Linked DNA regions of Homo sapiens: regions 1 and 2 are each linked to region 3. Evidence: promoter capture Hi-C in 16 types of primary human blood cells and fetal thymus (Javierre and others, 2016). All regions are on one chromosome and are shown on one strand. The core of a region is centred on a gene start or on the middle of the fragment in contact, and the rest is flanking DNA. Distances in the headings are between cores, read along the strand shown.

Region 1 (2,700 bases), core at 183-2,682, 520 kb before region 3:
GGATTACAGGCACCCGCCGCCACGCCTGTCTAATTTCTGTTTTTAGTAGAGATGGGGTTTTACCATGTTGGCCAGGCTGGTCTTGAACTCCTAACCTCAAGTGATCCACCCGCCTTGGCCTCCCAAAGTCCTGGAATTACAGGCGTGAGCCACTGTGCCTGGCCATACATTTCCTTAGTAGCCATATTGGGCCCACCTCTACCCCTAGCTTTTACCACCCCTGTTTGAGACCTTGGGTTTACCAAATGCATTCTGTGAACTGCAAAGCACATAAAGTTGGAGATGAAGATCTTGTCACCCATGGTTATGTCCTGCTTCAGTCCTTTTCAATGTCTCTTGGACTCTGATTTGGGATACATTGTGGATACCTGAGACATCTGGAATGCTCTAAGGGCCTTTAACCCAAGATGCACTTAATTCTGTGTGGTTTACCTGGCGTAGTTATCAATATTAAGAGAAAGAGTGAAACATTTTAAAAATCTCTACTAAGGAAAAACCATCTTGGGAATTCTGCAATTTATTATTTATTAATGGAAACTTTCATAAGACTAAATAAATGTTTTTATCTTTCAAGTAAGCATTTAATGGATTACTTTAAAAGAAAGACATGTTTTTATTTCTCATAAGTGAGTTTAGAACAATAACTCTAGATTTCAATTACATTCTCAGAGTTATCTGGCACAAACTGATGTCTCACAAAAGCAATGAAACAAACAAACAACAAAACCATGTTTTTCTGACTGGATTGTTGGCTAGCTGTCACGGCTATGTTCCAACCACAATAATTATAGTCCATCTACATATTTCTTTCCTATGATCCAGCTGGATTAGCCTGTAATAAAAAAAAAGCCATATCTTATACTTTTGAGGGCTCAGGCTTAGTAAAATCTCACCCCGTTATACTCTAAAAGTGGACTTTAAAAATTAGTGATTGACCAGGCACAGTGGCTCACGCCTATAATCCCTGCACTTTGGTAGGCTGAGGCAGGTGGATCCCTTGGGGTCAGGAGTTTGAGACCAGCCTGGCCAACATGGGGAAACCCCAACTCTACTAAAAATACAAAAGTTAGGTGGACATGGTGGTGTGCCCCTGTAATCCCAGCTGCTCAGGAGGCTGAGGCATGAGACTCGCTTAAACCTGGGAGGTGGAGGTTACGGTGAGCTGAGATCATGCCACTGCACTCCAGCCTGGGCGACAGAGTGAGACTGTTTCAAAAAATAATATAAAATGAAAAATAAAAATTAGTGATGAAGCAGTTTCAATAGCCCTATTTTGCAGCTGACTGAATTCTTAGCCATAAAGGCTACAGAATCAAGTTCATTTGTATGGCTTAAGGTGACAACATATTTAAATAGAAATCACACATTTTCCTAAAGTATGTTGCTGTATGATATTGCTGTAAATAAACATTTCCTTCTCTTTTATTTTTATTTATTTATTTTAGAAATGGAGTCTCATTATGTTGCTCAGGCTGGTCTCGAACTCCTGGCCTCAAAATATCCTCTGGCCTCAGCCTCCTAAAAAGCTGGGATTACAGGTGTGAGCCATGACACCTGGCCTGAATAAGCATTTCTAAGCAAAAATGTACTTATATTTCATGCATGAAGAAAATGCTTAAACATATGCACTATTGTGAAAACACATGAATGGGTAACAATTCTGTTTAAAACTATTTGGAAAAGAGTGTTGCTCAGTCAGGGAAATATCGTAATGCTAACAGAAACCTTAGAAGATTTTCCTGTTAGAGGATTTCCCCCAGCCCCACCGACAACCCAGGATTGAAAGTTTGGTGTCTTCTGTTACCTCCTTCCTTTTTTGTTCTCCCATGGCTTGGTAGTTTCTAAGTACCATGAAGTCCCTATGTGACCTTCCCTATTGCTGACCCCTTTTCCTTCTTTCGTCACAGCCCTGTCACCATTCACTGGGACTTTTGCAGGAGGCCGTCCCCTTCTTAGACCCAGGCAAGAGGAGCCCCTGTCCTGGCCATCCTCTGGCATTGCCTCTCTTGGCAAAGCGAGGATACTGCAGAGCTAAGGGACATGCCACTTCTAGTCTAAGCACCCATTTCTGGACCATGACTGGAACATCATTGTTTGGACTCTGTAATTCCTTGTCCAAACAGTCCTGAGCCTGCTTCCAGAGGCTATGCAGGCTCTTTCCTGGGGTCCAGCCTTCTGGCAATGAATGTTGCAAGTCCTTAGGTCTAAAGGGTAGCCTGGGGTGGCTGTTTGAAGGGGATGTGGTTATGCAGTTTGGATGTAGGAGTTCACCTCCCACATACGAGAGAGGCCTTCATGGTGCTACATGGTGTCCAGGGAAGAAGAGGAAGTGGGCTATGGGCACGGTGCCAGGGTCTTGGAGCCAGGGTCAGCTCTCTCTGTGATGCTACATTTTGTGTAGGAGTCTAAGAATTTTTCATTCAAACGCAGAAAGCTGGGCTCTGCATGCACCTGTAGTCCCTGATAGCTGGCAACCACTCCCAATGTATGAAATATAAGAACACTTTTGCTTAGAAATGCTTATTCAGCCCAGGTGAAGTGGCTCACACCTGTAATCCCAGCACTTTGGGAAGCCAAGGTAGGTGGATCACTTGAGGTCAGGAGTTCGAGACCAGCCTGGCCAACATGGTGAAACCCCCATCTCTACAAAAAAAAATAAAAATAAAAATTAGCTAGGTGTGGTGGTGCACGCCTGTAATC
Region 2 (2,700 bases), core at 8-2,507, 560 kb before region 3:
GTATGACTGATTCTTTACTTGCTCCTGAACTGGCATGTAGAAAAAAAACACAATGCTTCCATTCCTATTTAGTGTAACATTAATTTCTGGCTTGAGTTTTTTAATCTACATTCCACAGAGCAGGTCATGTGCCATTTGTTCACCCATCATTTCTCAATTCTTTTGCAAAATTCACCAGAAAAAGGTATCTATCTTACTCTTTTATTTGTACATGTGTTTATTCCAAAACTGCACTTAAAGTAATCCTTTTTTTTTTTTTTTTTTTTTTTTTTTTTTTTTTTTTTTTTTTTGGTAGAATGGAAGTTAGTCTGTTTCTGGCCATAAGACATTCAGGTCCTCTCATCACTGGAAGCTTTCCTGTAGAGGGCAGGGAGTTGTGACGTCTGGACACCCCAAAACCCCAGACTTCAGTAAATGTTCAGGTAAAAGAGCTCTGGATGTCAGGAATTGAGTATTCCAGTCCCTGGATGCAGCTGGAATAGACTCCAAAGACCAAAGAAAATGTGTGGGAAATCCAGAAGTCCTAAATGAACATGTCACTCACTGTGCCCCCTCAAAAAAGCGAAATTATTTTTCCAGGAAAATATAAAAGCACTACGCTACTTTTGGATTCATTCCACTCCCATTGCTACCCCAGGTGAATGACCGTGGTTGCAGGTTAAATGCAAACTTTGCTATACCAAAGAGTCCTAGGACATTTTCACATGAGCTATAAAGGCATATTCCCTAAGAAAGGTCCTCCCTTCTTTGTACATAAAGGATGAAAACTATGCATTTAGCAAACAAAGAGAAAGCACTTCTTTTTCTATCTAGTTGTTTAGGGTGCATTCAAACACCAGAGGCTGTTTTGAGACATGTTTGGCCTTCTGGGTTATTACTGTGGTGTGGTTAGCTTTACAGTACATTTGGTAACTATTTCCTAAATAGTAAGGACAAAGAAGCAGAAGGTAAGAAATAGCGACTTCCACGTGTAAAAAAAAAAAAGAAAAAGAAAAAAAGAAAAAAAAGTGTAAAGATCTACTATTTATAGTGTGAACCAAAGACGCTACCTCACTCAATTTCCATTGGTGATTTTAATCACATTGATGATACCAAAGAATACCAAAGATATTTTCATGCACGGTCTCAGTCTGCAGAGGGAACTCCGCCCCTTCCCTTCCCCCACCCCTCCCCCTTCCTAACTCTTCACTCAGTGTGTAAACTTGTCTTCATTCTTAATAATGATACAATAATGACAACAACAACATTAGGAAATACTACTCTTATTACTGCTAGTTCTACTTGTAAATCTCTAGGCAAACATGTTGCAAACTTTGTAAACTCCTAGGACGAGTGCCTTGCTTGAACCAAAGTGTTAAACCGCTGTTGACCTCTTTCACCTTATACTCTTTGAATACCTCAGCCTCTTAGAAAGGCCACTAATGAAAAAAAAAGGAATAATTATTCACCGTGGTGCTTTTTCCGTGCAACCATGCAATGAAACTTTCTTTGATACCAAAGGATGACTTTTTTTTTTCCCAATTTCTTGCTGATAAACCAAAGCTCCTCCTCCTTGTTCCCTCTCAAGTTCCCCCCACCTGACTTCACCTGTCCCTCCACCAGGCAGGCCGTGCATAACTTTTACCAATTCCTCCAAATACCTCATAGTAATAAAGTTTTAGGGTTATGTTGTATAGAGAGTCTATGTGATAAGGCAGAACTTACTAGTTTGATAATTGTTAAGGTTACTTTAAAAAAAACTTTATAATTCTTATTTATTTTGTAGTTTGTATGTTTGGGATGTCCCCCCCCCCTCTTTGATTTGGGGTTTATTTTCTTGGCAGAACTGCTCTATTGCTCAAGGAAGACTTAGTTTCTGGAAATATTCCCCGGGTGAGTTAAGGGTTGTGTAAAAATGCAAGAATGGAATACGAAATGATTTTCATTTTGATGGTTACTTATGAAGTTTTTGTGTTCCGTAGAAAATTTGTTTCCACAGGGTAAAAAAATATATATATATAAAATCTCTTTTCTGTGAAGCTGGTTCCTATTTTTCTCTATAATGTGCTGTGATTTTTTTTAATTTAATTACATTTTATATGAGCTTATTTAATCACTGCTTTAATTTATGACTGTGTAGTTTTTAAAATGTATATAGTAGAATCAAAATGGCCAAAGCTTTATGTTACAATCTTTTTGTTCTCGATGCTAAGATAAGCTGAAGGCAAGAGCTTCTCTTAACTGCAGGGTGTATCTTTAGCTTTTTCTTAGTAGGTACTTCAATGTGTGCTGTAAACACTGCCAGGTCCCCCTCAGAAACTTGTACATGCCAAAGTGAGTGTTTCAAGATAGTCCTTTTTGTCATTTAGACAGAAGAAAGGCATTGTTCGTGTTCTTCCTTTAATTTATTAATTTTTTTTTAGAAAAGATTACTTTGCAGGTAAGACCTGAAATTCCAAAGAATTTGAGACTTTTTTAATATTTCAAAGCACCGGCATTTGTGAGATACTTTGCTACTTCTTTTTTTTTTTTTTTTTTTTAACCATTCGCACGGGTATGAAAAGTAGAGTGTAAAAACTCAGAGAGACAAGCTAACTTGAATTTGGAAATCCTCTAGGTTTTCCCAAGTTTCTGAATTGCTTCAAGGCAGGGGGCAGGGCATGGAGACACAGTTCCTTTTGCAAAGCTGAGAGGAGAGTGTAATGGCCTCATGCCCTTAAG
Region 3 (2,700 bases), core at 128-2,627:
TATTTATTTTTAAATTTTCTCAAAAAGTAACTAAAAAATTGTGTCGGACCCTACTTTTGAGAAATCTACGTTTCCCAAGTTTTATGGGAACTGGCTATTCCTTGTCCCGGCACACCTTCTCATTCCTTCCTTTCAGAGCCTAAAACCTCATTTGATAAGCACTCCTAGTCTCTGGCCTGTGGATCCAGTGCTATTCTGTCACCAACCTAAGAATCCCAATTGCACCTTCTGTTTCTGACAGTCACAGGTGACAGCTGTGATTCTATAATACAGACTGGTGTCTTAGAGGTAGGAATAATACATGATTATGAAGCATCACCCTGCTAATACATAATAATGTCTTTTTATATTATAAGTGATTGAGTTTAGTTCATTTCAATACATTGTACATGAAAAAATGAAAAGTAGAACTTTGTAATACTTTAATCAATAAAATTAATTACCAAATGAATTGGGTCAGATTCTTTCATTGCGAGGAGATGACATGTCTCTTAAGTGTACAAGTTGTATGCCTTTCTTTACGGTCATACTGAAAGATGCTAGAATCTTTATAGATTCATAATATCTCATTTAAAGTATATTAAAATGTTTAGAGAAGAAGTAAATATGTCATAAGTGCTGGCTTAGGCTGTGTCTCCAGGGCGCTTCCACACTGTCAGAATGAGGGGCTACTTGGCAGAGAATTGGCAGGGTTTCTGATCCTGAGCTGCGGCCTCCATGCCCTTTCTAGACCTTCCCCACACCATGAGGAGCCATCACTGTTGGTTTTCGGCTTCCATAACTCAGGATTTATGCCTGTTTTATAGCACTTACCCTGGACTGGAAGCCAGAAATGCTGCCCATTTCCTCTGTAGGCCTGTGAGCCCCAGAGGGCAGGTGCCACATCCTCCTCATCCCTGCCTTCATCCTACTGCTGATGAGGTGGGAAGAGAACTGAAGGAGCAAAGTCCCGTTGGAGGACTGTGTGTGTGTGGTGGGGAGTCAACCATGGGAAAAAGTAGGTCATGTTTGGGGACAGGGAGACCTGTGGAGGCTGAGGAGTTTATGTGTGGAAAAATGGGGAAAGGGAGGCACTCATCCCACAGTCTTGATCAGTTCTACAAAGCTGACAGTGGCAAGGAGACCAAAATAGAGAAATGTTAAGAACATGTGGCCCAGGTGAATGTGAGGGCTGCTCAGTGAGTGGGCGCAGACACAGAGGTCAAACCTGCCAAGGCCTCCCTCCACAGAGGGGCTGGGCAGGTTCCAGGGGTGAGTGAGGGATGCAGATGGCAGTGCGTGCCCAGCAGGGAGCATGGAAGTGCTGTGGAGGAAGGAAGCAAGCTGAGCAGCACTCCAGAGAAGATAAGGAGATTAGCCAGTGGGAGACGTGCTTCACACCTCAAGCTGCGCGCTGGTCCTCACCTCTCACCATCTGCTCTGTGGCTCCCAGTGCTGACTCTGGAAGGTATGTGCATGCTGACATTCGGTTAAAATACTCCAGCTTTTGAAATGCTCAGAAAAGCATCCAGATGAGTACAGGGCACAGTGTTAGCAGGTCTTTCTGTGCGGTGGGAGCATGGGTGAGGGGTTTTGTTGTTGTTAATCCGTAGAATCTAATTTTTCTACAATACACATGAATTTATTTTGAAATAGTAAATTTCAAATATTTCAAATTGAAATATTTCAATATTTTTTACATTAATATTGGCATCAGGAAAGAGATTAAGCATACTTAAAATCACTAAGTCAGTTTTAAAATTTGATCCAGGTGACACATGGCAACATAAGCCTCTGAGTACAGCTTATGGGGTTAGAAAGAGGTTTTTAGTTGTAAGTCTGAGATACATCCACATTGTGTGTATCAGTTATTTTTTATTCTATGCTCATTTCACAGTTTCGTCTGTGACTGGTGAACATTTGGGTCTTTCAAGTTTAGGCCTTCTATGAATAGCTGCTATGACATTTATGTTTTTTTTTTTTTTTTTTTTTTTTTTTTTTTTTTTTTTTTAAGGAAATAAGCATTATTTTCTGTGGTGTATGTATGCACGAGTAGAATTGCCTGGTCATAGACTATATCCGTTTCACTTTAGTAGCTCCTACCAACCAGTTTTCTACAGTGGTTATACCGACTTATACTCCCACTAGCAGAGAAAGGCAGTTCCAGTCTCTGCATCCTTGCCCACACTTTGTGTTGTCAGGCTTTTTAGGTTTTCTGATGGCTAAGTAGTTGTATCACATCGTAGTTTTACTTTGTATTTCTATGATGACTAATGATAATGAGCACCTTTTTATATGTTTATTGACCATATAAGTATCCTCATTTGTGAAGTGACTACACAAGCCTTTTGTCCATTTTAAAAATAATCTTTGGGCTGGGCGCGGTGGCTCATGCCTGTAATCCCAGCACTTTGGGAGGCTGAGGCGGGCAGATCATGAGGTCAGGAGATTGAGAGCATCCTGGTTAACACGGTGAAACCCCATCTCTACTAAAAATACAAGAAATTAGCCGGGTGAGGTGGCGGGCGCCTGTATTCCCAGATATTTGGGAGGCTGAGGCAGGAGAATGGCATGAACCTGGGAGGCGGAGCTTACAGTGAGCCGAGATTGCGCCACTGCACTCCAACCTGGGCGACAGAGCAAGACTCTGTCTAAAAAAAAAAAAAAAAAAATTTATTGAGATATGATGTCCACGTTTTGTTTCATGTTTTAAAACCCATC

Evidence for each region. The method cuts DNA at HindIII sites, captures the fragments that hold promoters and counts their contacts. A CHiCAGO score of 5 or more calls a contact.
Region 1: a fragment that was not itself captured here is called in contact with the fragment with the promoter of GNB5 in region 3 in 7 of 17 cell types (naive B cells, activated CD4 T cells, non-activated CD4 T cells and 4 more); the score reaches 8.2 in naive B cells.
Region 2: a contact is called between a fragment that was not itself captured here and the fragment with the promoter of GNB5 in region 3, in 4 of 17 cell types (activated CD4 T cells, total B cells, naive B cells and 1 more). The highest score is 7.7, in activated CD4 T cells.

What each region holds. Positions count from the first base shown.
Region 1 is chr15:52,714,789-52,717,488 of GRCh38, reverse strand. No RefSeq gene overlaps it. Among named protein-coding and RNA genes, the nearest start is that of ATOSA, 37 kb to the right of the region's middle. The HindIII fragment of the contact is 7,050 bases long and covers 1-2,700 here.
Region 2 is chr15:52,751,695-52,754,394 of GRCh38, reverse strand. No RefSeq gene overlaps it. Among named protein-coding and RNA genes, the nearest start is that of ONECUT1, 37 kb to the left of the region's middle. The HindIII fragment of the contact is 1,805 bases long and covers 355-2,159 here.
Region 3 is chr15:52,190,069-52,192,768 of GRCh38, reverse strand. It overlaps GNB5 (G protein subunit beta 5), which reads left to right and starts at 1,377. Exons shown (of 13, transcript NM_016194.4): 1 at 1,377-1,447. It overlaps MYO5C (myosin VC), which reads left to right. Exons shown (of 41, transcript NM_018728.4): 41 at 1-447. The region is part of intron 2 of CERNA1 (competing endogenous lncRNA 1 for miR-4707-5p and miR-4767); the gene reads right to left. RefSeq lists an enhancer at 780-1,279. The HindIII fragment of the contact is 7,593 bases long and covers 1-2,700 here.